7 separate regions of the Homo sapiens genome follow, and regions 1, 2, 3, 4, 5 and 6 are each linked to region 7. Evidence: promoter capture Hi-C in 16 types of primary human blood cells and fetal thymus (Javierre and others, 2016). All regions are on one chromosome and are shown on one strand. The core of a region is centred on a gene start or on the middle of the fragment in contact, and the rest is flanking DNA. Distances in the headings are between cores, read along the strand shown. Region 1 overlaps MARCHF6 (membrane associated ring-CH-type finger 6). Region 2 overlaps ICE1 (interactor of little elongation complex ELL subunit 1). Region 3 overlaps CCT5 (chaperonin containing TCP1 subunit 5). Region 4 overlaps LOC101929200 (a long non-coding RNA gene). Region 5 overlaps ICE1 (interactor of little elongation complex ELL subunit 1). Region 6 overlaps ICE1 (interactor of little elongation complex ELL subunit 1). Region 7 holds the start of FASTKD3 (FAST kinase domains 3).

Evidence for each region. Contacts are between HindIII fragments. The CHiCAGO score rates a contact against its expected background, and 5 or more counts as called.
Region 1: a fragment that was not itself captured here is called in contact with the fragment with the promoter of FASTKD3 in region 7 in 5 of 17 cell types (naive CD4 T cells, naive CD8 T cells, activated CD4 T cells and 2 more); the score reaches 10.4 in naive CD4 T cells.
Region 2: a contact is called between a fragment that was not itself captured here and the fragment with the promoter of FASTKD3 in region 7, in 8 of 17 cell types (total CD8 T cells, total CD4 T cells, total B cells and 5 more). The highest score is 18.2, in total CD8 T cells.
Region 3: a contact is called between a fragment that was not itself captured here and the fragment with the promoter of FASTKD3 in region 7, in 7 of 17 cell types (total CD8 T cells, total CD4 T cells, total B cells and 4 more). The highest score is 12.8, in total CD8 T cells.
Region 4: a fragment that was not itself captured here is called in contact with the fragment with the promoter of FASTKD3 in region 7 in 9 of 17 cell types (naive CD8 T cells, non-activated CD4 T cells, total CD8 T cells and 6 more); the score reaches 21.2 in naive CD8 T cells.
Region 5: a fragment that was not itself captured here is called in contact with the fragment with the promoter of FASTKD3 in region 7 in 6 of 17 cell types (total CD4 T cells, naive CD4 T cells, naive CD8 T cells and 3 more); the score reaches 10.7 in total CD4 T cells.
Region 6: a fragment that was not itself captured here is called in contact with the fragment with the promoter of FASTKD3 in region 7 in 7 of 17 cell types (naive CD8 T cells, total CD4 T cells, non-activated CD4 T cells and 4 more); the score reaches 20.0 in naive CD8 T cells.

Annotation. Positions count from the first base shown.
Region 1 is chr5:10,364,176-10,368,229 of GRCh38, reverse strand. The region is part of intron 1 of MARCHF6 (membrane associated ring-CH-type finger 6); the gene reads right to left. Among named protein-coding and RNA genes, the nearest start is that of MARCHF6-DT, 12 kb to the right of the region's middle. The HindIII fragment of the contact is 3,100 bases long and covers 471-3,570 here.
Region 2 is chr5:5,467,006-5,471,136 of GRCh38, reverse strand. It overlaps ICE1 (interactor of little elongation complex ELL subunit 1), which reads right to left. Exons shown (of 19, transcript NM_015325.3): 15 at 2,149-2,309. Among named protein-coding and RNA genes, the nearest start is that of ICE1, 46 kb to the right of the region's middle. The HindIII fragment of the contact is 629 bases long and covers 2,006-2,634 here.
Region 3 is chr5:10,260,605-10,264,486 of GRCh38, reverse strand. It overlaps CCT5 (chaperonin containing TCP1 subunit 5), which reads right to left. Exons shown (of 11, transcript NM_012073.5): 7 at 3,576-3,695; 8 at 2,742-2,927; 9 at 1,869-2,006; 10 at 1,173-1,353. Among named protein-coding and RNA genes, the nearest start is that of CCT5, 12 kb to the right of the region's middle. The HindIII fragment of the contact is 8,542 bases long and covers 1-3,882 here.
Region 4 is chr5:5,416,883-5,420,551 of GRCh38, reverse strand. The region is part of intron 2 of LOC101929200 (a long non-coding RNA gene); the gene reads left to right. Among named protein-coding and RNA genes, the nearest start is that of ICE1, 4.0 kb to the left of the region's middle. RefSeq lists an enhancer at 1,200-1,269. The HindIII fragment of the contact is 1,560 bases long and covers 1,600-3,159 here.
Region 5 is chr5:5,449,762-5,453,401 of GRCh38, reverse strand. All of the region lies in intron 10 of ICE1 (interactor of little elongation complex ELL subunit 1), which reads right to left. Among named protein-coding and RNA genes, the nearest start is that of ICE1, 29 kb to the right of the region's middle. The HindIII fragment of the contact is 2,759 bases long and covers 1-2,663 here.
Region 6 is chr5:5,433,599-5,437,338 of GRCh38, reverse strand. It overlaps ICE1 (interactor of little elongation complex ELL subunit 1), which reads right to left. Exons shown (of 19, transcript NM_015325.3): 2 at 863-921; 3 at 225-259. Among named protein-coding and RNA genes, the nearest start is that of ICE1, 13 kb to the right of the region's middle. The HindIII fragment of the contact is 3,964 bases long and covers 1-3,740 here.
Region 7 is chr5:7,866,070-7,870,280 of GRCh38, reverse strand. FASTKD3 (FAST kinase domains 3) reads left to right here and starts at 1,250. Exons shown (of 7, transcript NM_024091.4): 1 at 1,250-1,302; 2 at 2,085-3,635. The coding sequence starts at 2,198. MTRR (5-methyltetrahydrofolate-homocysteine methyltransferase reductase) reads right to left here and starts at 1,133. Exons shown (of 15, transcript NM_002454.3): 1 at 1,066-1,133. RefSeq lists silencers at 631-680, 741-790, 801-1,240. The HindIII fragment of the contact is 2,367 bases long and covers 314-2,680 here.

The DNA.
Region 1 (4,054 bases), core at 771-3,270, 2.5 Mb before region 7:
AAGTACGACTATTACAAACATACAAAGTCAAAAAAAGAATAGCCTGTTTTGTATACTAGTTCCAATCCCACCACCCAAAACCTCAACAGAGTAACAAGGCCAAGGCTACAAAAAGAGTGAAGTCTACAAAGGGCTCAGCTTAAAGTCCTTTACTAAAAATTAAACCACCGAAGTAGGTTCTGTGGCAGATTGAGGCTCCCCCCCATCAGATTCGTATGCAGTAAAATTATGAATCTTGCTCAGGCCAAAGTAAAATCAATGCATCTTGCTTGTTATGAACGCAAACCTACTTAGAAACAATATGGCAAAGCTCTTCCTGGTTTTCAAAGGGAAATTTCTATTTAATCCTGTAGCAATTTTTGTTGCTGTATTTGAATACCTAATGTCTTTACACATGGATACCTTTTAAAGATTCCACCAAAGAGCTTGGCTCAATAAACAATAGTGGTTTTTTTAATTAAAAAAAAGCTTCAAGTCCTTAGTAATTTTTCAAATTCTTGTGGAGATTGCCCAGGAGATGGGAAAGAAAGAAAGAAAACCACCACCACTGTGGAAGTCAGCCCATTTCATCAAAGTTTTTCTAGCCAACAGTACAGTTCAATAATTTATCCTAAGTGCCTAGTATGAGGAAAAAAATAAAACTCTAAGTTTTGGGGTACATGTTATAACTCTTAAGCTATTATCTATCTTGAAAGTTCTTTGATGTAAGACTTCAAAATCTCTCCACTTACCTTCTGGTGTTAAATCAGTGATAATTTAATATACAAAGAATTATTTTTTATTACTAACAGACTTTAGATTTTAGAAGTCTTAGACTTACAGAAAATATGAAGAGAGTACAGAGTTCCCATATACCCAGCACACAATATCCCCTACTATTAACATCTTATTAGGATTTGTTACACTTTTGTTACACTTAACCAATATTGATACATTGTCATTAACTCAAATCCATGGTTTATTCTGATTTCCTTAGTCTTTACCTAACGTCCCTTTTCTGTTCTAGGATCTACATATATTTAGTTGTCATGTCTCCTTGGGCTCCTCTGGGCTCGGGCAGTCTCTCAGATTTTCCTTGTTTCTGACGACCTTGACAATTTTAAGGAGTACTGGTCAGGTACACTGTAGAATGTCTGTTTACTGGAAATTGCATGATTCATGAATAGACTGGGGCTATGGGTTTTGGGAAGGAAAAAAATCACATGAAGTGGCATCTTATATCATATCATATCATATCAAGGGATATGCCATCAACATGATTTGTAACTGTTGGAGGCCGAAAGACTGAGGGTCGTGATCAACTCAGTATACCACTGGAGGCTATAAGAGTGAACAGCAAACTGTTCTCATAAACGCAGAATGTTGGCAAACTGACAAACTGCCTATGCCACCCAGAAGGAATGCTGAAGGCAGTCACGCCCCAAGCTCAGTTTCTTGTGATTAGGTACATCTGAAGCCTGTTCGTAATAATATGAACGTGTGATCAATTAAGCAGCTGACCAGTCATTATCACCTCCCCCCTGCTCTTTCTACCCAATAAATTCTAAGGGCTGTGGAAGCTAGGCTGCTGCCTTTGCTCCCTAGAAGCAGGGAGCCCTCTTTTTCTTCCCCTTTTTTCTTCCTTTAAAAGTTTCTTTTGTCTTAATTTTTCATTTCTACATTTGTCCCCCTTCACTCAGTCTCATAATGACGGTCTCAAGTAGTAACAGCAGTAACTGTCATAGTGACAGTCTCAAGTAATAACCGTGGCACTATGCCACATGTAACTGTTAATGTTGACCTTGTTCATCTGGCTGAAGTAAACAAGGAATGTTTAATATGTAATTATCAATAAAATTTTTACAATTAGTAGCTACAATTATAGTAGACAATTTTGAAAATATATTAAAAATATTACTCAAAATGTCTGCAGATAACCTATATAGCCCAAAATAGGGAAGCGGCTATATAAATGGTGCACATTCACTATATGGAATGTATACAGTCCCTTAAAAATAGCAAATACAAGGCTGGGCGCAGTGGCTCATGCCTGTAATCCCAGCACTTTGGCAAGATGGATCACTTGAGTCCAGAAGTTCGAAACCAGCCTGGCCAACATGGCGAAACCCATCTCTACTAAAAATACAAAAACTAGCCAGGTATGGCAGCACACGCCTATAATCCCAGCTACTCAGGAGGCTGAGGTACAAGAATCATTTCAACCCAGGAGGCGGAGGTTGCAGTGAACCGAAATTGCGTGACTGCATTCCAGCCTGGGCAACAGACCAAAAAACAAAAAAAAAGTATATATATGTATATATAACTATTTGCTAATATGGAAAGAGATATAACATTTTTAAATGACCACACTCCCTTACTTCCAACTAGGTAAAAACACCATAGCCTAAAGAAGAAAATGCAAAAAAAAGACAGCCACTGTAATTGGTCAGACGAGAACATGGGTAATTTTTCTTCCTTTCTCGTCCCCAAGTAGATAGTGTTTAATTGCTACTTTTACAATTACAGGCAGAAAAAAATGTTTAACTGCTCAAATTTTACAAAAAATATTTCCTTTTTGAGGGTGAGCGTATACCCATACACAAACTATGTGGGTTTGGGAATTAGGCCTTGCAAACACAGTTTAAAAATTCCAATTCTCGGCCAGGTGCAGTGGCTCACGCCTGTAATCCCAGGAGGCTGAGGTGGGCGGATCACCTGAGGTCGGCAGTTCATGACCAACCTGACCAACATGGAGAAACCCCACCTCTACTAAAAATACAAAATTAGCCAGGTGTGGTGGCATATGCCTGTAATCCCAGCTACTCGGGAGGCTGAGGCAGGAGAATCGCTTGAACCCGGGAGGCGGAGGTTGCGGTGAGCCAAGATCGTGCCATTGTACTCCAGCCTGGGCAACAAGAGCGAAACTCTGTCTCAAAAATAATAATAATAATAATAATTCCAATTCTCTATGTACCCCAAAGTTTACTTATTTTAGCTCACCAGATTACTATCGTTACTAAATTAAAAATTCACCTGTACTGTTGCTCCTGGAAGCCTGAAAACTGCACTTTCTGGCCTCCTTGCCAACTAGGCTTAAGTTAGAGTCTGTCAATGAGAAGCACTTCTGTGAGATCAGAAGAAGCAGGGAGGCTGGGTGCAGTGGCTCACACCTGTAATCTCAGCACTTTGGGAGGCTGAGGTGGGTAGATCAACTGAGGTCAGGAGTTCAAGACCAGCTTGGCCAACATGGTGAAACCCCGTCTCTACTAAAAATACAAAATTAGCCGGGCGTGGTGGCATGTGCTTGTAATCCCAGCTACTCAGGAGGCTGAGGCAGGAGAATCGCTTGAACCTGGGTGGCAGAGGTTGCAGTCAGCCAAGATCGCACCATTGCACTCCAGCCTGGGCGACAAGAGCGAAACTCCATCTCAAAAATAAAAATAAAGAAGAAGCAGAGAAACAGCGAAACCATTTTCTACTTGTTTCTAAAAACCAGCAGTTGCAGCTAATGGCAGGTACTGCAGACTCCTGCTAACAGATACGCAAGTCATGGTGGAGATTCTGCCCAACAGCTGTGGGCAACATCAAGCTTCAGCAGCACAGGCAATGAATGATTCCAACAATTTCAGCAGTAATGAGCTAGTTATCCATGTATCCCCTTCTCAACTCCAAATTCTCCCTTTCAGTCCCTGTTCAGTGATAGGGATGCTAAGCTTTTCTTTTCTTTTCTTTTGGCTAGGGGCAGTTAAACTTTGCCAGTAGAGGGTGCTGGAGGGATATCTAAGAAGAAAGGGGTGTTTTCTAGCTCCTGCCACACTATCAGTAGTTTTGTTTTAATGAACACCTTCATACAGCCCTGCTGATGAGGACCCAACACACTCCAGGACTTGCACAGGTACACACAGTGATATCCCAACTCCCTCTGCATAACTGCCCATCAACCTTGGCTCACCTGTACCCGGAAGGTTGCTTTCTGCTCCCCAGAAGAAGTGGTGTACCACTTTACACTCCCACCAGCAGTATATGAAAATTCCAACTGCTCTACCTCCTTACAAACACTTGGTACGGTCAGTCA
Region 2 (4,131 bases), core at 1,071-3,570, 2.4 Mb after region 7:
ACTGTCAGCTATCTATGTTGCTGGCATTTTTTAAAGGTAGTATTTTTGTCTTCTATGTGTTTCTGTTTCTTTTCCACTTAGTTACTACTATCTCTTAAAATTTATTCTTTTTCTCTGGTTCCCTTGTCATATTTCTAATGTTGAAGATGAGTAACAGTTAACTTCATTTATTTTCTGCTAAACAACTAAGACATTTAAGATACTTTAATGAGTACATGTTTTCCAAAAAAGCTAGAGATATTTGATTCTGAGTTTACCTTTTCATTGACTTTTAAGACTGTGATTTTACTTTGCATATTTTATTTGTTCCCAGATTGTCTAAGAATGTATATCTCAATTTCAAAGTAAATGTAAATATTTTGAATTTTTTTTCTGTTAAATTTTACTGAATTATTACCAGGGAATTTTGAGTGTCAAATCTTTGCTTTTAGAAATGAATGTTTTCATGTGGCCAATTCATCATTCATTTGTGCAAATGTGTCATAGATATATAAAAAATACATATTCTTCATACACATTTACTTTTTAAATTAATGAACTGTACTATGTCCTCATTTTTGTTTACCAGATGTTTAATTCTGTAAGTGAGTATTTGGAAATCCTGTAATATAATGGGGTTTTATTCCCCAAGTATTTCTCACCTTTCTTAAAGCTCTATGTATTTTTATTTGATACAATATTTAGCAAATACATTTACTAAAATGTTATGTTCTTCATAAGTAATGTCTTTTTAACCATATCCTGCTTAATTCTGAACAGGTGAAAGGAGATGGGCTCTAGTGTGCAAGTGGAAAGACCAAGTGAGAGCAGAAGCAGGCTGGACAGATAACATTCTGAAGGCGGGTAACCCTCTGAAGGCAAGTAACTCTCCAGACACAGTAACTCTCTAGGAACAGGTAACCCCCTGTAGGCAGGTAACCCTCTGGGAACGGGTAACTCTCTGGAGGCAAGTAATCCTCTGGAGGCAAGTAACTCTCTGTGAACAGGTAACCCTCTGGGAACAGTTAACTCTCTTGGGGCAGGTAATGCTCGAGGCAGGTAACTCTCTGGGAACAGGTAACCCTCCAGAGGCAGGTAATTCTCTGGGAACAGGTAACCCTCGGAAGGCAGTAACCCTCAAAGCAGGTAAGTCTCTGGAGGCAGGTAACCTTCCAGAAGCAGGTAACTCTCCGGAAGCTGGCAGCCCTCTGGAGCAGATATATATGTGGTTGCTGGTATCCATTAGTAGGAGTCAGGATGTCTCTCCTGACACAAAATGACCAACTAGAATTTATGACAATACCTCACATGAATCTACTCTGTTGTGTCTAGATAGATTGATGAAGAGATCATTACAAACTTGCTTTTTAATATTTACCTAACTTTTGACCACCAAAAGCTCTTTCCTTTACGTTTTATAAAAAATAAAAGCCTAACAAATACTAACATCAAAAGTAATAATAAAAAAAGGCAAAACAGCATATAAAATTCTGCTCCACACATAAGCCCAGGGGAGTTTTTAGAAGAGGAAATACATGCTCATTAAAAACAGAAAATAAAATTAAAAAATCAATATCACTGGCTTCAGTACCTCTTCTTGAAGTTCGCTACCGGTAGTTAGACTCTCATTAGGTAAAATGAATGAATGAAAGAAAATGATGAAAGAACACCCATCTAGACACTTACTTTAACATATCAATAACTGAAAATAATAATAAAAGATAACACGGGAACAAACTAGTCAGCATAAAAACAAATTCTATCAACTGGAAAGAAAAATTAAGCATATTAGATTTTAAAAATCCTAATAGGAAAAAACTGAAATATATATATTTTTACCTAAGTATCTATTGAAGAACCAAATAATTTTGTAGCTTCTCTGAGACTTTTAAACATATACACCTATGCGTGGGTTTCATCAGTCACAAATTAGTGTATAACACAAACTGTTAATTAACACAATCCTTTGGTCTACAATTCTTCCTTGAATGTCTCATGCATTCTTAATTAACAAAATGGATAAGCTTAGGCTAAACTGATTAAATTTTAAAAGATCTAGAAAGAAGAAAATGCCTATGAACTAATATAAAACTAAATACACAACAAAATAATTAACATTTATATAATATCTAAAAGTAAGATACTGTAAGAAACAGAAATATGGCTCACCTTTTCCCAATTAAGAAAAGCTCTCAAGCAGTTCAGAACCTCTCCTTTAGCACGTTGCCTGGCAACTAACTGCATTGCTTTATTAATCACCGATTGAGAGAGAAATATATCATGCCACATGTTTGCAATAAACAAAGTTAATTTTTCAGACTCCGGAAAATCTATCAGAAATAAAATAATACAATAACTCTTTGATGTATGATCGAGTAAATAAATTGCAAATTAAGAACAAATTGTATTAATTTCACTGGTGCCTTGCAGGCATCCTGCAATGGAGGAAGCTGTAAATGGGGAGCCCAGATGAGGCTCCAGTCACAGTCATTTCCAAAATCCGTTCTCCAACTTCCTCAGTCTCAGAATTCTCCCATTTGGTATGTGTCATTACAGGCAATTTTTATGCATTACATAGGTTTTGCATTACATAGGTTTTGTATTACATTACATAGGTTTTTATGCATTACATTTACTCATTGAACACATAAAGCTTCTGATTTGAAGAATTTTTTAAAATAAATTCTAGATGACAATTCTTTTGTTGTAAATACTTTCTCCTACACTCTTTGTCTCTTTTTTAAAAATTAATTGAAGTGTAGTCTACAGACAATAAAATAAACTCTTTTAAAGTATAAAGTTCAATGAATTTGGATAAATGATTAAATCCACGAAACCACCACCACAACAGTCAATACCATCATTTCAAAACTTCTCTCGCTCTCGTGCTCTGCAGTATATCACCTCACCCCAGATACAGAGAAGCCCTGATCTATTGTCACTATACATTAGTTTGCCTTTTCTCAAATATTTATTCATGGATTTGTGAAGTAGGTACTTTCTTCTGTCTGGCTTCCCCACTCAGCATGTTGGTTTTGACATTCATCCGTGTTGTTGCATGCATTGGTAGTCTATTCCTTTGTATAGCCAAGTAGTATTTAACTGCTTGATATATCAAAATGTTTTCCATTCACCTGCTGATGGACATTTGTTTCCAGTTATGGGCTCCTATGAGTCAAGATGTTACATCCGCGTGCTAGTTTATGTAATGATGTCATGATCTAACTCTGTGTTTCTGCTGCGTAAGTGCCTGAGTGGAATTTCTGAGCCATAGGATAAATGAATGTTTTAATTTCATAAGAAACTGTCAAAGAGCCTTCCAAAGTAAAGATTTTTATCCTGTTTGCTGTACAATCACATCTTTTTAGTTTTCTTTGTTCTACTTTATCTATCACTGACACATCTAAGAATAGATAGCTCAAAGCATAAACTCACTGCACTAAACTTCATCTGTTAATTTTTGAATCCTATGTTTATCTGGTGACACTTCAGAGTAGAAACAAGACAAATAAATTCTCTCCTTACAGAGTATACAAGCTAGAGGAGCAGAGAGACAGCAAACAAAATATTTAATCTTTAAGAAGTGGTAAGTGCCAGGAAGGCAAATAAAGAAAAATAAGGGATCCAGGATGACTAGGAAGGTATGTGAAATTAATGGAGTGAAACACAAGAGTTGAGGGAAACAGAGCAAGAAAGCTGTCAGCACAAAAGCTTGAGCTAAGAATGGGCTTGCTGTGGTTGAGGAAGAAGAAGAAATCCATCGTGGTCCTGGCCGAGCCCACACCCGTTCCGTCCCACCACCCACCAACTGCTGAACTTCATGTGTGTTTTTGTGATATGACTATGGCCTGTCAGTCCCACTGGACAAGTGTACCTCCATCTGATTTTAATCACCACAGAAATCCCAACATTCACTCCATAATGATTTGTTGAATGAATGACTGAGAGAGTAAACAAAGAAATGAAGTGGGCAAATGAAACACTTCACAGCTTCGTTCACAACAGTAAAAGTGATGGATATACTCAATTATCCTGATTTATAAGCCCCATAAACATGGTAGTCAAAGATGGTAAATGTTTACCACTGAGATAAGACTGATACGATACTAGGTTTCATTTGTATATCATATGATTTAAAAATACTGATGATTT
Region 3 (3,882 bases), core at 1,383-3,882, 2.4 Mb before region 7:
TTCATTACTTCCAAGGACACTCTGGAACTCGCACCTGGTAAAGAGAGCTGTTGGGAGGGCACTGTCTTCAATGACTAGCTACAGGGTGACATTTTTCAGGAACATCTTATCCCACAAAGTATCCATACCCTAACTTAGGAAATCTAAAGTAAGTCCATCTGACCACAGCTGAAATGTAAGATATTTCCAAGAAAGATCTAGAAATGCTAATTTTTTTTTTGGAGACAGGTGTCACCCAGGCTGGAATACAACAGTGCGATCTCAGCTCACTGGAACCTCTGCGTCCCGGGTTCAAGCGATTCTCCTGCCTCAGCCTCCCGAGTAGCTGGGATTACAGGTGCCTGCCCTGACCAGGCCTGGCTAATTTTGTATTTTTTGTAGAGATGGTGTTTCACCATGTTGGTCAGGCTGGTGTCAAACTCCTGACCTCAGGTGATCCACCCGGCTTGGCCTCCTAAAGTGCTGGGATTACAGACATGAGTCACTGCGCCCGGCCCTAGAAATGCTAAATTTGAGCACAACCAGGCATTCAAGTTAGAAACATTAAATGTTTGCCTCACAAAGAGTTGCTACTATTGAAACCCTTGGAATTTGAGCATGGAAAGCAGAATGTACCTATACCTTTAAGCAAAAGCTGTCATTCTGTGGATGGATTACAGACATGGCCTGATTTAGTACAGAAATGCCTGAGACCACTGTTTCAACAAGCTACAGCCACCATATCTTTTTGGGAGCCGAGCTACACAAGTGGCTACAGAGGTTATATATTACATTTAGAAAACACTCCACAGTGTGCAGGATTAACCACACAGTGAACTGTGAACTAAAGCCCACTTCAGAGCTGTTATATATATGCTGCCCACTGACAGACATCTGTGTAAAAACAGCAATAAGGCATTACTTCCCAAAAACCAGAGATTAAAACCTAAGTCATCTTTGGTGATAGTACCATATGCACTTTACTGTTATTACAATGAGTCTCATGTTGCTAGGTCTAGTAGTCTAACCAATTCCTACGGCAATCAAACATTCTAAAATTCAGGACTTGAACACCTGAAGTGGGCTTACATATTTAAAAAGACACCATCATCTCACAGCACATACAGTGGATGATTATTCAGTTTAAATCAGACATCCCCCCCCCTCCACGCAGAGGCGTGACAGCTCCTCACCATTTGTCCCCTTGTGCAAACAGTCGATGCCAAGAGCAGGGTTCATCTCCTTCACCTGTCTGGCTCGGACTTCGGTCATAGTCTGGATGGGATTCATGCCACTGTTTTCAGAGAGGGCCATGGGGATGACCTCCAGTGCGTCGGCAAACGCTCTCATGGCATACTGTTCTAAGGTGGGGCACTGGAAAGGTACAGAAGTATGGTGAGTGCACTTGGCGAAACAAAACAACCCAGCGGCACCGTGAAAACACAACTGTATCACATACTTTGAAAAGTCAGCTCACAAAGAATTGTAAGAACAGGCTGTCTTTATTTTTGTATCTATCAGAATATTATAATGTCACCACAGAATACAGGCAGAGGGTATACATACATGTGAGAGATGTCTCAAAATACAGCAGCTCTTATGGCTTTATTTTTAAGTTATAATATTAATTTTGAATTTCAAATAACATTAAAAGACTATAGATTTATTATTTCAAGGACGAACTGGCTGAAAACAGCTGAGAAATGCTAGGTTATGGTAACCAGAATCTGAATACAGGAACGTGGGAATTAACTTAGATTAAAACACCTGTCACCTACACACAGCTCACGATGCTTGTTTTGCATCCAGCACCTCGCTGTTCCGCAGCTTCACAGTCTCCACCATCAGCGAGGCCTGAATCTTTCACTAAGTCTGCACAGATCCCTTACCTTATCCGCCTCTTGGCTAACTGCCAGGGCACAGGATATCTCAGCAGCCCCTCCTCCATACACCACACGATTATCGCGGATGAGGTTCCGGATGACACACAAAGCATCGTGAAGGGATCGTTTCGCCTCCTCAATGATCTAAGGAAAACAGCTTTGCCTGAATTAATGTGATCAAGATCTAGTCAATTTAGAGCCAAGTATCTGGCACCTTTTTAAAGACAGAGAGGCTGTGCTCTAATATTTAGATGGCCTCCACTATCGGATAATATTTATCTTTCTAGCTTTCCTTCCTGCAATGTAGTTAACAAAATTCAAGAGGCAGAGGCGGCCAGTGACTCATTCTAGGATACACGGTCAAGCAAGAGTCAAAAACTGACAAAACTCGCAAAGATTTATCACAATGTGCTAAAAACTCATTCTCAAAGAACAGAGATCGTCAATGGTTATTCACTTGGGTTCCCTTTTTCTACCTAAGGGACAGATGTAAGTCATCCTTGGTAATAATACCATATTGTAATTAAAATGAGTCTTATGTTGCTAGGGCTAGCAGTTTAACCAACCCCTAATGTAACTGTATCAAACATTCTAAAATCCAGGACTTGAATATTTAAACTGTGTTTAAGTATTTAAAAAGATATAAAAATCTCATAGTGTATATTGTATACTCTAAGGGACAGCAGAAAGGCAAATGTGCCTTGTGAAATTAACAATTTAACATGGTCTTCAGTAATTTTACACCATGATACGTCATTGTTTGAGAACCACGATTATTTTTCTTATGGTGACTGTGTCTCTGTTAAATACACACAGGCAAAAAAGCCAGACCATGAAGCAAAATAAGCAACAGTATAGGACAAATAGTTGAATTCTCACCATCTTATTTCCTCCTCTAATAAAAATGGTTACAGCTCTGGAGTTCTTACACTGCTCGATGACCAGCATTTTATCCTTAGTTGTCCCAAATGAGATCTCCTGTACAAGACCAGCAAAGCCCAGCTTCTCGGCTGTGAGCTCTGAGAACCTGGGGACGATCCGCCCTCCTGTTGCGATGGCAATCAGCTAATTGGGGTGGTCAGGGAGAAGGATGAAGACAGTACTGGTGAAGTTAACTTTCAAAACTGGGCCACAAATGAGCAAAACTTGATCTAAGACCAACTTGTTCACTAGAACTGCTGCCCCACTTTGACCGAGACATCTCCAGTTCAACCCAAAGCACCTTGCTAGGTAACAAGGCTCTTGAGCTGGACGTCTTGATTGGGGCTTTGGTGCTGCCCAGATCTATCACCCGGCGCCCGTCCCCTAAGCTCATACCCTCATCTCCCATCTGTGCAGCCCTCCCTCACTCTGGGAACCCAGCCTGCATGTTCCTTGCACTGCGCTGCAGTGAGAACCACCGAGGCACCGTTGCCTGGGACTGCCATTAGTATTTGGATGAGACCAGGTCTTCCAGCCTTAGTAAGTCAACGACAGGGCCAAGTGAGACAACACAGGGAGAGAATTTCAAAATGCCAGGGAACACCAGAAACACACAGCACTGTTATCCAAACAGTAACAAAGATTCCAGCGCTTTCCTCTCTCCCAGCTCACCCTCCCCTCATCTGCCAGCCTTGGTGTGATGCAGTTATTTAAGGCAGGGCTATCAAAACACCCCTCAACACATAAGATGAACCCCTACTTCTCAAAGTCTCTTCACGTGGAACATCCTACCTCAATTTCAGGTCCTCCTACCCAGCGAACCGCAGGCAAGTTGTTCTGAAGAAGTAAGTGATTTGCTTCATCATCAAAGCCCCACTGACAAATTGCTAGGTTAGCACCAGTCTCTTTAATCTGGGAAAAGAACCACCACAATCGTATTAAGAGAAAGTGGGTATTTATTCTTCATTACAATGTTTGAAAAAAGGAGAGGCACAGTTGGGTGTAAGGCAGGTGCACTCAAACACAAAAGCAAAGGAAAGAGAAGGAAGGAAATAGACAAGTGTCCACTTTTCTGTCAGTTCCAAATTCTAAATAGTGA
Region 4 (3,669 bases), core at 1,130-3,629, 2.5 Mb after region 7:
TTCTGTTTATTTAAGAAACTTCAAAATGTGAAAGTCATTCTTAACATGCAGGGTGTAAAAAAACAGGTGTGATTATTGGTCATAATGAAAATGTAGTAGGCCACTAATTGAGGAATGGTCAGAATTACATTTTTTCTCTTTCCTGCATGATGGGCCACACCTGTTTTTTCATCACGATGGAAACAAACAAGCAAGTGTGTATACTGCAAGTGGTGAACTATGGCTTTGGAACCACACATCTGTCTTTAAATTCTTACGCAAATGACCTATTTGTGCTGGTGTTTCCTTACAGAGGACCAACGGTAATTTAAGTAAAAAGTGACAAGGATGGGACCCACTCTATAGGATTCACTAGACAAATAGTTATTAATAATTTATTGATGGTGGTATCCATTTTGGAAAGGAGATAAATATATCTTCAACTGACTCATAGGAAAAAGATGGTTTGCTTTTTCTTTAAAAGCATTTTTCCTGTCAAACTTCCAAGATAAACTTGTTGTTTTTCTGCCAGAGAAGCCCTAAGACCCGGAGGAATGTCTGCATTCCAGTCTCTGGTCTTGGGATTCCCTGTGCCTGTCGAATCCAGCCAGCTGTTCAGAGGATCCAACTCAAAAAGTCTCACTTCTCACCCCACACGCTCATTACCTCTCAGATACTTGGTGTCTGCTTAAAACGAAAGCTCTGGAATTAGCATCATTGAGAGGTAACTGTTGATTTAGTTTATTAACATATACTTCCACTGAAATGGCTAATAGATATGGTCTAGAAACCAAGGAGAACTCAAAATGGAAAGCTGTCTATTCTTTGGAAGTTCAAGGCTGTGCTTTTAATTGATGCATTTAACTGTAAGAAAAATGAACTATATGTTCATTTGTTTCTTTTAATTGGAGAGATGTTTGATGGAATTGTTTGTGACTAACAGTGTGTTATTCAATGATATGACCCCCTGATTATTAGGTATTAATTTCCAGACCTGTGATGTAATGCTACCATATGCCCACAAGATGTCTGTCTTTCCCTGTGTGTTTTCCACATAAATAGAATTTCCGACGGTATTAGGACTTAACCGAACCTTCTTGCTGAGGGGAAAGGCCATCCTCTGGGGCATCCTAGGGTGGAAGGCGTCTTGTGGGAACCACTTTGCTATCCGCCCACACACGTTCCACCAGGCTTAGTCCTAAGCTGTCTTTGCTCCAGTTTTTCTCAACACTCAGGGTTATAGTGGTGGGGTTTCGACTTGTCCTCAGACATCAGCAATTTGCTCACAGCCTCAGCTCTTACCCTCAAAGTGATTTGAAGCCAGAGAGTAAACATGTTGCTTCTTCCTGAAACACTGATGTTACTTAGAAACCGGACAAATAAAATTTAGTTTTGAAACAATTAGTTTGAAATAGAAAGCAAAACTGATATGATTATTAAGCAAAATTTTCTTCAACCTGAGAAAGCTGATTGAGAAAAGTAAAAAAAAAAAAAGCAACATTTGAAAGGACTTTCACAACTCTCACATTGCAGTCGCCCTCTGTAAAGGAGGACAAGCCCACTCTGCCTTGCGGGTTTGTGAACACCTGGCGGCTGTAAGAGTTGGTCACACGAGAAGCTTCTTGTAGCTTCCGGGATCGGAGGAAGAAGGCGGCAGGTGCTCAGAGGTGACAGGTGTTGAGGAGGGGATTCTCTGTAGAGCAGCTGGCAAGGGCATGTCCCACCTAACTCTGAGGAGGGATAGGAAAGGGAGGGACATGTTTCCCCTTCACCTGAGGCCAGTGGGGGGTCTCCTTGGTTTCTAGACCACATCTAGCAGCCATTTCAGTGGATGTATATGTTAATAAATTAAATCAACAGTTGCCTCTCGATGATGCTATATTCCAGAGCTTTGTTTTAATCAGTGCCCCCACGAAGTGAAGCACTCAGAGTCAGATGCTACATGCCCTAGAGTGGTTCCAAGGGAACCGTGGGACAGCTCCAGGAGATGGGTTGGAGGTGACTGAGCCGCATGCTCACCCGCACTGGGATGAGCAGGAGTTCTGCATACTGGATACGGTGGGCATTTCAGTGGGAGCTGCGAGGAAAGCGAGGCTGAGGCAAAGTGAGCAGCCAGAAATAAAACTTTGCTCTTCCATCCCCCATTCAAAGAACTGTAGCTGGATGTCCACAGCTGGAAAGTCCTCACTTTGAACTGTATCCACACAGCACCAGTGGCAGCCACTCACCAAAACTTGTTTCTATTCTGTCTAGTTATTCCCCAGCCTCCCTGCACCTGACATGTGATTAAGTTCTACCAGCCAAACATCAGCAAAAGGGGCCTGGCCCCTAGGGCCTTCCTGTGCTCTTTGTCACTTCCTGCTGACTGGAAGAGGGATGAATCCCAGGACCCTGAGCTGGTGGTTAAGTTACTGTCTCTCGGCCCCACACCTTCCCTTTTATACTCTGCCTTGTGACGTAGGGACTGGGGAGCCACGTGCCACCTCTCCTGCCAGAGTTCTGTTCAGCTGTGCCAACAGATATACACAAGGAAACCAGAAGATAAGAGGTAGGAGAGGGGCCTGTGCCTCCCATTCTGTCCTGTCCGACTCCTGGTCCTGCTAGCGTCTTGCTATCCTTGCTTTCGCACCTGGCAGTGGCAGTTCATGAACAGAGCGGCATACGAATTGGGTCTGCAGTTTCTCTGACACACGCAGAGCCAGCCTCATAGCATCCCCTCGGAGATACCAGCAAAGTTGGTTTCCCAGCTCCACAGAGCCCTGAGTCCAAGAGCAGAGGCCTCAGCACCAGCCCAGAAGGTCCCTTCTTCATATGTCTGAGTGTGATTTCTGGGTGGCAGCTCCTCCACATTTCTGAGTTTTGCTCACTCCTTCCTCCTTCTTTTATTCTCTCCAGCCCAAGGTGTCAGCTGCTTCTTGCGGTGGCTCCTCCTGTGATATTTTAGTGTTTTGCTTTTACCTTTTCTCTCTTAAAATAATCTGGGTGTAATGTGGGTCTCCTGGCTGAGCTCTGCCCCAGTCCTGTGCGGAAGATGCTCTTCCGTCCCAAGGAGCTCGCTGCAGGAGAGAAGCCCACCCCACCAGCCTGTTCTTTGTTCTTGGACTATGACTCAAGCACTTTGGGAAGCCAGGTTACAAAGACTGCATCTTTTTCTCCTGATCCCTTCTCCTACCCCAAGCTTGGAGGGGTCACAAACAAGCTGGTGAATAAGGAAAATGTTGGAACAGAGGAAAAGCCTGTCTTGCCCCATTCCCACCCACCCACACCCATCTTGCTAGCGTCTAAGAACGGCCACCAGCTCCATGGGTAAGAAGCTAAGTTGAAGACAGGAAATAAGTGACAGCACATCACACTGGACTGTGTTGTCTCCGAGTGACTGGAAAGGCTAGGGTGTGTGCCCAAGACTGCATCTGGGGTAAGAAGGAGCCCAGAGGACAAATCCCACAGACAGCAATGATTTAAAAACCAAGACATGGAGGAAGTGACTTTATGATCATCTTCTGCTCAGTACTGCCCTTGCTGAGGCATGTGCAGCCCCTTCTCCTCCTCCTCCTCCTCCCCCTCCTTCCCCCTCCCTCCCCGTCCTCCTTCCCCTCTCCCTCCTCCTCACCCTCCTCCTCCTCTTCCTCTTCATCCTCCTCCTCCTTCTGACTCACCTCCCAATGAATTCCTCAGTTGTTGTGTGTGCCC
Region 5 (3,640 bases), core at 35-2,534, 2.4 Mb after region 7:
AAATGAAGTCCACAGAAAGGGGCAGGACAACTGTGGAGGACAGTTCACGGGTAAGTGTGAAAGGCTGGACACTGCCAACTCTCCTGAGCCAAAACAACCTTCTGATTGCCACTGTGTGTGAGCCATATCCATTTTTCAGTTCCAAAATTCTGTGATCGAGTAGCTTATCTACATTGTGATATAACCTACCCAAAAGCCTGCTTCCAAATACTGTAATCCCCTTTGCTTAAATGACCTGACCAGGATCCCTGCTTATTACGTATACCCAAAGCAGCAAACAAGGAACCTTAAAAAAAAAGAAAAAAAGTTACTTTTCCATTCTTATGGAGGCTATCATCCAGAGCTATGCCTTTGTAACTGAGCATTCATTACTGCTAATCTGACCCAAAAAATAAATAAATAAAAGCACTCTATTCCCAACAAAGCAGAAAAACATCTTCAGCGTTAACTTCACACTTAGTTGTGAAGACAACACCTCCTTCAAGTGAATTGCACAACTTTCCCTGATCCTTTAAAATTCTGCCTTTATCAAACTCTAAGGCATGTATGAATATTTAAGGACTTACATATTTATTTATTTAATTTATTTTCTACTTCATTGCTTTGTCATTTTCTGTATCCATACCACACTTCTTTAATCAGGGTAGGTTACTGAATATCTGTTAGAGCGTAATCATTATTCAGTTTTCTCCTGTTGAAAAATTGTATTATTCTGAACATACACTTTTCCCTATAAACCATCTGCTTGTGCTCTTCCATAGAAAACATCTATGGGACTTTGAATATTTCTGTATATTTATAAATACATTTGGGGAAATTTTACATCTTTATGCTTTGAATCTTCTCATCCAGGAACATGTTTATGTACTCAGGTCTTCCTTAACGCTTTTAAGGAATGTTTCAGTTTTCCTCAGAAACACTGTATACTGCTTTCAGGTCTTTTCTTAGACATCTGCTGGTTCAGGTGCCACTTGAGAATGGGTTGTTCTTATTCCATTCCTTTTCTAACAGGTTAATAACGGTACAATGTATATGTTCATTGTATATGCCAGCACTTTACCAAGCTCTATTACTTCTAATTCCAACTCTGAGTCTTTTAAATTCTCTACATTAGTAGTATCATCTGAAATAATGACAATTTCAACTTTTCTTTATTAGTATTCACAGATCCTACTCTTCTGCATTTATTCTGTTGCACTGGTTCAGGCCTCCAGTACAAAAAAAAAAAAAAAAAAAAATGGAACAAACAAAAAGCATGCTTGCCTTGTTTTTGACAGTAATAACTATACTTTGAATGTTTCACCTTTCTCAAGTTAAAATTTTTTTTCCATTACCTCATCAATTTTTTGAAATTGGGACTACGTGCTGAATTGAGATGATCACAACATTCTCTGACCCAGCTGTAGTATTCCTGAGATAAATCTTCAAGCATAATTTGTCTGTACTCTAAATTTGTGGATTTAATTTCTTAAAATTTTATTTGGTATTTTTGCAGCTATATTAACAACACAAGAGTCCTGAATCTTGAGAACATGTGTGCATGCTATTTGATTTTGGTACAGCATTATGCTAGCCTAAGAGAATAAAATGGAAACATTCCTTATTTTCTAAGTTCTGAAACAAAAAAATTAATAACAGAGACACTAGTTTTTCACTGAACGTTTACAAAGCTCACCTATAAATTATCCGGATTTATTATGGTGTTAGATCTTTAACTATTGTTAAAAATTTCTTCCTATTTTTTGTTCAGGTTTGTAGCAATTGTTCTGAGTCAATTTGAGCATGTTTTCCTTGAAAATGGACCATTCTACTTACATTTTCACATCTGAATATGAACTTGTGAATTATGAAATTTCTTGACTGTAGTTTTACCTGTTTCTCAATCCTGGTGCTGTTTTTCCTTCTGTTTGTTTGTTTAATCAAAGTTTACCAAAGAGTTGTTGGTTTCACTAGCATTACAAAGAACCAGCTATCAGATTTAATTGTCCTAAATCAATTGCTTTGTTTCCTATTTCATTAAGTTTGCATTTTCATCAATTTTTTCTTTCAGTTAAACACTTCATTCTCCGTATTTATTTCTAAAGTGACAATGTATCACGTAAGGCCTTAACATATTCCTTTGAATAGTGAAGGAATTGGCTATATCTTAAAGATTTTAATAAATATTGCCCTACTGTTTACTTTCAAAACAGTTTAGTATTTCAATTCTTATTTTCTCTGTTACCAAAGAGAGGTTTTTTGTGTGTCTTATGTGAGTTTAGTTATTAGGTAAGTTTTGCAGGTTTTGTTTTTGCAGAGGGAGGGGGATTTTTATTAAAAGCTCATATTAAATTGTAGGTATTTTTTATTGTTCACTTACTAGTCAACTTTTATACATTTGAAAAGTATTTTAACAAACTCCAGGTGTGTGGTTTACAAACAGTTGTATATAAATTATCCATTTGGAACTGTGATTCCAATTCCATCCCTTGTCTGCTTTTGCTCTCTCTTTCTAAAAAACATTGTGAAGTCTCTCACGACGAAAATAGATTTGGCCAGTCCCCCTAGATTTCCAAGAGTATTGCTTGACATCGTTTCACACTCTTAGGTACATACTAGCAGTATCTTCATGGCAAACTATACTTTTAATCAACATTTCAATAATGTAAATTCATTTCTAAGCTTTTATTATTTTTTACCTTACATGACTGCTTTAATGTCAGCATTGCTTGGAATATTTTTATCCATCCCTCTAATATTCAGTCTGTTTCATTTGATTTTAGGTATATTTCCTACGAAGGTGTCAGAGACGGAGACTGTACACAAAAATCACGCTCAACACTTGGTGGCCCCTATGAATATGAATATTCCATGTGTTCTCTGCTCAGGAAAGTTCCCTTCTGTCATGTCTTGATCACCTTCTCTCCTTCTGTTTCTGTTCTCCCCTCTGAGAAGTCCTAGGAGACGCATATTGAGACATCTGGCTCTATCCTCCAAATCTTGTTATTTTCTCTAATATCTTTAATTTGTTTGTCCCTTTGTATGATGCTCTCAACCGCCTAGGATTCAGTCTCTAGGATCAACTTAATTGATCTTTTATTTGTTCATCCAGTATTTCCACCTTTCTACTGGGTTTATTTATACAATTGGATTTTTAATTTTCAAGATCCCTATCTGGTTCAATTTCATAGCAGCAGCCTATGGACATGTTCTTAGACTTTCTCTAAAGGAAATGCAATCAGTTTTCAGCATTTCCTTCTCATTCATAATTAAAGACTGTTTCTCTCAGTCTTCTTGCGTCTGTTGCTTTTCTCTTTTTTCTCACTGCTTTTTCTCTAAGTTTTAGATGAGAGTTTAGGCAGAACATCTTTGGCAGACAAAGTGTATTTCTTCAGCCTACATTTTTAGTGCTATTCCTTCAGCAGTAAATGTAGATTCTCATTTCATAAATCTGTGGGACCCTGCCTTGCAGGGGAAGCAGTGGAAAGTGGACGCAGTTGTGAGGGTTTACATGGAGTATATAAACATCTTGTTTTCTGGGAAGAGGAGGGGCTAGCCCTTAAAGTGGCCATAATTACCCAATTTTCTGATATCCACGCCCACTCTGAGGAGCTCCATTGTCATAGCTAAAACTTTAGAAAATGAAACTGGGGCCACAGTT
Region 6 (3,740 bases), core at 715-3,214, 2.4 Mb after region 7:
TCACAATCAACAAGAAAAGTAATCTCATTTTTAAAACTCATCATTAAACATGGATTAAGAATAAAAGGACTGTCTGTTTACTGTGCTTGTGAGACATGCTCCCTACTGAAGCCTGTTAAGTACTATCTTCCAGAAGGCCTATGAGGAACAATTCTCACATCTCTTTCAGGAATTAAACATAAGTTAGTTCCAAAACTCAACAGAAAAAGCCAGTAAAAGGATATCATCACATTTCTTCTGATATTCTGTTAACAAATTACTGCAAAAAAGAAAAGAAAAATTAGGTTACTTTTTAATTTAGAAAATATACTATGTTAAAATTATGTTTCAATCCATGCAAGGCACCCTCTAGACTTCCTAGATTTCCTGAAACAAATGCATGCTAAATTAATGACTATATCACCTTAAATTTCTCAAAAGCATCACGTTGATATACAAGCCTTTTATTTAGAAACCTTTAGATCTGAGTAGTATCTTGGCTCATACATTCATGAGACTATTACAAAGCTGAAAACAAAAAAAATAGGAAATCTCACACCATGGCTATAAAATACTGTTAGGAGGTTTGAGGTCCAGCAGTAAAGCTAAGAAGGCTTTGAAGACAGAAAACAGATTTTTTAAGAAGTCCAGTTTGGTAAAAACAACTTCCTACTAACCCACGAGCTTTGTTTTAAAGGCCTGTGAACCTGTAACAAAAGGTTCAAGTCCCAAAGCTCACGGGGAATTATAATCAGTACCATGCAGGCCTCCAAAGGAGAAACTCTAGTGTTCATTCCAGCCCTGGGGGCCTAAAAGCACCGCCTGCTTCAGCCAGTTTGTCAGGTTTACAAAGTTCTGCCAAACGACATGCAAATATACTTACTCTGTATTGATAATTTTTTGTTTCAAGGTAATTAATGCTTCAACATATTCATTCAAATTCTGAAAGAAAAAAAGCCACAGTCAGCTTTTTTATCAATTACTTTAAATATAATTATTGTCTGTAACATTATTTATCATATCTAAGAATTTTAATAATTATATAAACATAGAAATGTTAATGCATTACTTATATTGTGTAGAGCACAATCTGAGCCTATGGTGCCTCTCTCCAAACCTGTTTATCTGAATGATAGTACTCCTTTAACAGCAAGGTAGTTAGTTGTAAATATGCTTTTACTGTGTGCAATTAGCCACAGAGCTCAATAAATATTAACTATTTTTAGTTTGCTATTAATCATCAATCTTTACCCTGCATTGTTTCTGAGAGGATTTAAGGCTACCCCAAAAGACACATAAATCATAAAAAATAACAACAAAAAAGAAACCATGGGGGAGATGAATAGAAATATTAAAATGGACTAAGATTAAGTGAAAAAATATATAAGGATCTAGGCCGGGTGCGGTGACTCATGCCTATAATCCCAGCACTTTGGGAGGCTGAGGCGGATTACCTGAGGTCAGGAGTTCAAGACCAGCCTGACCAACATGGTGAAACCCTGTCTCTACTAAAAATACAAAATTTAGCCAGGTGTGTTGGTGGGCACCTGTAATCCTAGCTACTCAGGAGGCTGAGGCAGGAGAATCACTTGAACCTGAGAGGCGGAGGTTGCAGTGAGCCGAGATCGTGCCATTGCACTCCAGTGACAGTGAGATTCCATCTCGAAAAAAAAAACAAAAACAAAACAAAAAAAAAAAAAAACACAAATTTGGCTCTAAATTACCGCTATCAACCCAAAAGGAAAAACATCCTTAGTTACACTGTTGAAATGTTCCTAAGATTTTAAAATGAGCTAATTTTTTCTTTTCATTAACTTCTTTCCTTTAATGTCTCCTTTTTCCATCACTAAATACTTCAGAAATAAGGACTTACTTTTAAACATAACCACAATAGCCCTTCACAAGTAATAATTACACCAAGTAATAATTTGAAATTATCCAAACTATGTTCAATTTTCACTGATTATCCCAATAGTTTTCCAGATAATCCAAATGATTTTGATAGTTACAGTAATATTTCCCTTTATGATAATGTCTGCCTTTTCTTCTCAGTTATGTTACATATCTGTTAAAACATCTACACATTAAAATAAAGTCAAATGCATAGTTTCTCTTGTAATCTCACCATCTGTCAAAAATCACTCAGCGTGTTTTTAACTTTCAACTTTCAGAACTGCCACCACATATATAAAATATATTTTTGGATGTACTCCATCTATCAAATTGTTGTTGAGGGAGGTTTAGGTCCTTTTCCAGTCTTTACAGACAGCATGCCATGAATTTCCTTGCCCATTCCTTTGTCAAACAGTTCTATTTTTCCTGAGAATAAAGCCCAAATACTGGTACTGCTGGACCAGACTTATGCATTTCAGAGGTTTACACTGAAAAAGGTAAAGGATATAAACTGTCAATTCACAGATTAAGAATTTGGAATAGTCAATAGACATTTTTTAAAAAACGTATTCCACCTTTTTCATATCAGGAAATGCAAAACTAAAATAACAAAAATTTACTTTTCATCCACTAGGCTAGACTAAAATAAACATATTGGTAAGGATGTAAGGAAAATACAATTCATACTATGGGTGGTAGTATTTGAAGAGCATTTTGGCAGCATATAATGAAATCAAAACACACACAGTGATAATTTTTTCTATTTTTCCTCTACGCATTCCTGAAGGATGTTTTCTACATCCTGGTTAGCTTTTACACCCTAGCTTAATTTGTTTTTACCACTAGCATGAGTACTATCTTTATGTTGCTGTTTTTGCTATATTACATTTCCTAATTGGTTCTTAAGGGTATGCAAAAATATTACTAATTTTTGTTTGTTGATTACAGTAAGACCAGCTCATTTTACAACAATGTCACTTATAAACATACACACAAAAGATCTAAATAAAATATATGCAAAGTAAATCCAGCAGTGAATAATTTATCTGCAGATTCTCTTGGGTGTGTTATGTGAATAGTTGTAACATTCACTGATAATTTTATCCTACCTTTACTCATGCCTACATTTCATTTGCCCTCCTTCCTGAACTGACTAAGGCTTCAGCACAATATTGAATAGTAAGGGTAATAACAGGTGTCTTTGTCTTAAAAGTTGGAATTAGTTAATTAAATTTGCTCTGTTCCAGGTTATTGGTTGATATCCTTTAATCATGTTATGAAACTTCTACACACAGTCTGCTAAAAGATTTTCATGTATAGGTATCAATCTTCATCAAATAAATTTCTGTATTTAGTTTGAATATGTATTTTTCTCCCTTTATTTATTAATTTCAGTGAACTACAATAGATTTTCTAATGATAAAGCAGCCTTACATTCCTGGGGATAAAAGTAATTGAACACTATGTTAACATTATTTAAACACACTGAGGATTCAATTCCCCAATATCCTACTTAGGTTTTTTTTTTTCATCTATGTTCATAAGTGATATGCCTATACCATTTTTGCACTAAAATTACTAGGATGCCTTTCCCTTGCTAAAAACTGTAAGGAGGGAGTAAACTAGGAACACCTCTCATGCATGAATAAGACTTTGCTAGGTACAGAATTGTTGGGTCACCATCTGTTAAGCGTTAAATCATGACCTGTCCCACAAAAGACATGCTTAAGTCCTAACTCCCAGTATTTTAGAATGACCTTATTTAGAAATAGGGTCTTTACAGATATGATCAGGTTAAGATGAGGTCATACTGGACTAGAGTGGGCCCTAATCCAGATTTCTGGGCAGAGAGGGTGGATGCATGCATT
Region 7 (4,211 bases), core at 1-2,500:
TTGGTTCTTATTTGATCCTAACGCTAAACAAACTAATCATAGTACTAAAGGTAACTGAAGCACATACTCTCCTTCATTATTTAATGCAAATCAAAAATATGTGAGTGTATGGGCATATATACAAACGGGTGCATATAACGAAAAAATATTTCCAATCCACTTAAACATTTTACTAACACGTTTTTCCGCAAGAGATAAGCAGTAGTAAAACAAACGACACTCACAGATTTTTTTCCATACTCATCTAACGGCTAAAATTGGTGGGCTGTCAATTTGCAGAGACAGATTTAAACTGAAACCCAAACCAAAAGCTTGGCTTTCGGTGAATGAACCGCCCAGAACGGCACCTGGCATGAAACTGGTACTCGATAAGTTATCTGAATGAGTGAATAAACAATATGAAAACACTACACATTGACAGCTCACAGAAAACGGTGGAAACGATAATGAAAACCTTACTACAGCTAAAATTTCTATCACTTCCCATGAAACACACATCCTGAGGGCTTCCCAGGATCAATCAACCCCTCATCCCTGCTACTGCCCCACAATCCGGCACCACCTTCCCACGACTCTCAGCGGAGGCCCGGGCCCCAGCAGCCCCGGAAGCGGCGCGGAGGCGGTGGGCAGAGCTCACGGCCGCGGGCAGAACTCACGGCCGCGTCCCGCCGGGTGGGCGCTCGGAACGTCCCGGGTTCCCCGGAGCGCGCCGCCCCAACCCGGCATGTTCCCCAGTTCCCCGCGTCCCCGAGTGCGGTTTCCCTAGGCCTGGAAAGCGCCTAGAACCAAAGGCAGAACATGAGGAGAGACCCCACGCCGCCCAGGGGCCTCCCGCGGCAGAGGCCGACGCCGAGCCCAAGGACACGCTCCCGGGGACACCAAAGCCAAAGGCCAAAGGCCAAGTCCGAGCCCCAGCCCGCGCCCGCGGCGACCCCCGGAGGCCGAAGGGCGTGGGAACCACGGGCGCAAGCCGGCTGCCCACCCCCGCCCCGGGCCGCCTCTCCCAGGAGATTAGTGCAGGGCGAGCGGCCGGAATCCGGGAACCGTAGCCGACAGGCAGCTTACCCACGCCGCGCCAGCCGGGCACGAACCTGCACAACGCGACTTCCACCAACCTTGCGCCAGCGCGCACTGACGCAGCGCCCATGCTCGGTACCCAGGACCAATAGAAAGCTCCGAAGGGGACCTGGGCCAATCACATTGCGCCGCCCTGAGTCGTGCTCCCGCCCCGCGTTTGCTACGGAGGCCCACGACGCCCAGGCGCTTCCGCGACCACCCGGAGTGATTGCCCGGCAGAGCGCGGTAGGTGTCAACGCGGGGTCTCCGCGCAGTTGGTCCGGCTGGGTGTCAAAGACCTGGCCGGCTTTCTCCTCAGGCTGCGCCGCCCGGCCCGTGTCTCAGCGCAGGTCCCCGGGGCGCCGAGTTTGGGGGTGCTCGCCCCGCGGGTCCCTTTCATTCCTAGGAAAACGCGCCGCGGGGCCTCCCGTCTGTCTGTCTTGCACACACGTGTTGCCAAATCCCCCCGCACCGTCTTTAGATCTGGACTGGCCGCCCCACCTTCTCCCTTCATTGATCTATGTTTTGCTTTTTCTTTTCCTACCTTGTTTCCATTGACAAAGTAGACCCTTTCCTTCAACACTAACCTTCTCCCGACACCGAGGGGAAACCAACAGCTTAGGGCCTTTCCAGCGCGTTTTTACCCTTGCCTTGCTCTAACCTCGCCTAATTTTGCCCACTTTACCTGTTCTTTGATTTCTATCCAAATGCAATTTCTTCCTTCAACCAACATTTAAGGGCCACCCTTAAGAGCTACATTGCCTGAGTTTGAACCCTAGCTCTGCCACTTAACCACCTGCATAAACTGGGCAAAGTAACTTTGTGCTTCAACTTCTTCCTCGTGTAAAATGATAGTAAAAGTACTGAATCTGTGTAAGTTAATAGAATACCTACAACAGTGTTTAGCAAGTAATAGCGATTGTTATTGTTCAATGTCAGCCACTCTTCTAACTCTAGGATGCAGAGACTTTGCCCCTCTGGTGTTTATATGTTAACCATCCTTTTTTTTTTTTTTTTTTTTTTTCCAGATACTCGTTTGTAGTTTCATAAACATTGATGTTGGGTCAATCATGTTCTCAATGTATTTAACCATGTGTTTTTAAATTTTTTAATTTAGTTATCAAATTGAGAATCTGATGGTATGGCATTAATCACCTTGAGGAAGAACCTTTATCGTTTATCTGATTTTCAGATGCATAGAGCTCTGGCTGCTTTAAAAAATAAACCTCTAAATCATGTTCACAAGGTAGTCAAGGAGCGTCTGTGCCCTTGGTTGTGTTCACGACAACCTGAGCCTTTCGGGGTCAAATTCCATCATGCCCATTGTAAAAAGTTTCATTCGAAAAATGGAAATGACCTTCATCCACTCGGTGGACCAGTGTTCTCTCAAGTATCTGACTGCGACAGGCTTGAACAAAATGTTAAAAATGAGGAGAGTCAGATGTTTTACAGGAGACTGAGCAACTTGACTTCATCAGAAGAAGTGCTAAGTTTTATAAGCACGATGGAAACCCTGCCTGACACTATGGCAGCAGGAGCTTTACAACGAATTTGTGAAGTGGAAAAAAAGGATGGTGATCAAGGGCTGCCAAAAGAAATACTGGAGAATAGCATCTTTCAAGCTTTATGCTTTCAGTTTGAAAAGGAGCCCTCACAGCTGTCAAACACTAGTTTAGTGACTGCTTTGCAAGCTCTGATTCTGTTGCATGTGGATCCTCAAAGTAGCCTGTTGCTGAACCTGGTGGCAGAATGCCAAAATCGTCTCAGAAAAGGTGGCATGGAAGTTCGCAATCTTTGTATTCTTGGGGAAAGTCTGATTACACTGCACAGTTCAGGTTGTGTGACACTAGAACTCATTATAAATCAACTTCAAGGTGAAAAATTGGAAACATTTACCCCGGAGGATATTGTGGCCCTTTATAGAATCTTGCAGGCATGTACTGAAAAAGTGGATGAACACCAAACATTTTTAAATAAGATAAACAACTTTTCCCTATCAATAGTTTCCAACCTGAGTCCTAAATTGATTAGCCAAATGCTCACTGCCCTGGTGGTTCTTGATCAAAGTCAAGCATTTCCTCTGATTATAAAATTGGGCAAATATGTCGTGAGGCATGTCCCACATTTCACTAACGAGGAGCTTAGGAGAGTCTTGGAGGCGTTCATATATTTTGGGCACCATGACACATTTTTTACAAAAGCCCTAGAGCATCGTGTAGCTGCGGTGTGCCTCACGTTGGATCCTGAAGTTGTCTGCAGGGTCATGGAGTACTGCAGTAGAGAACTGATTCTTTCAAAACCCATCCTCAATGCAGTGGCAGAAACTTTTGTTTGCCAAACAGAAAAATTTTCACCTCGTCAGATTTCTGCCTTAATGGAACCATTTGGGAAACTCAATTATTTGCCACCAAATGCCTCTGCTTTATTTAGAAAGCTGGAAAACGTGCTATTCACTCATTTCAATTATTTTCCACCCAAATCATTATTGAAACTTCTTCATTCATGTTCACTTAATGAATGCCATCCAGTCAACTTTCTGGCAAAAATATTCAAGCCTCTTTTCCTTCAACGGCTGCAAGGTGAGTTGGTTATAAATTCTGACAGTTGGAAAAAAGTAACCTTTGAACTGGCAGTGGTTTCAAGTCACATATAAAGGCAATATGTTGCCTTTAGTTTTTCTTCCATAGTGATCCGAAGATGAGACCTGAAGTTAACAGATGCTGGCATAAACACAGTTAAAGCATGCTAGGAAATCATGTAGAGGGAAGAAAGCTGTCTCAGATAAACTGACTTTTGCCTTATCTGAGAAATTGCAGCATTCTTAGGAGATATGGTAATGGCAGTGGAAATAGCCACATTAACATGTTAGAACTTTTGATGAGTGAGCAACTGTATCTTTTTTTTTTTTTTTGAGAGGATGGTATTATTCATCTTAATTCAAGGCCACCCAAATATGTCAAATTTCCGGAACTCCATAGTTAAAGGAAATTTCCACTAATTCTGTGAACATATTTTATCTCTTTTAATTGTATTCTGTAGCTAGGAGCTTGGGTTCTTGGAAGTCAATTTCATTGGTGGCAAGAGGAGGGCATAATTAATTCTAACAAGTTCATTTCATAGTGTCATTTAAAAATAGAATACTTCTGTCTGGAGTG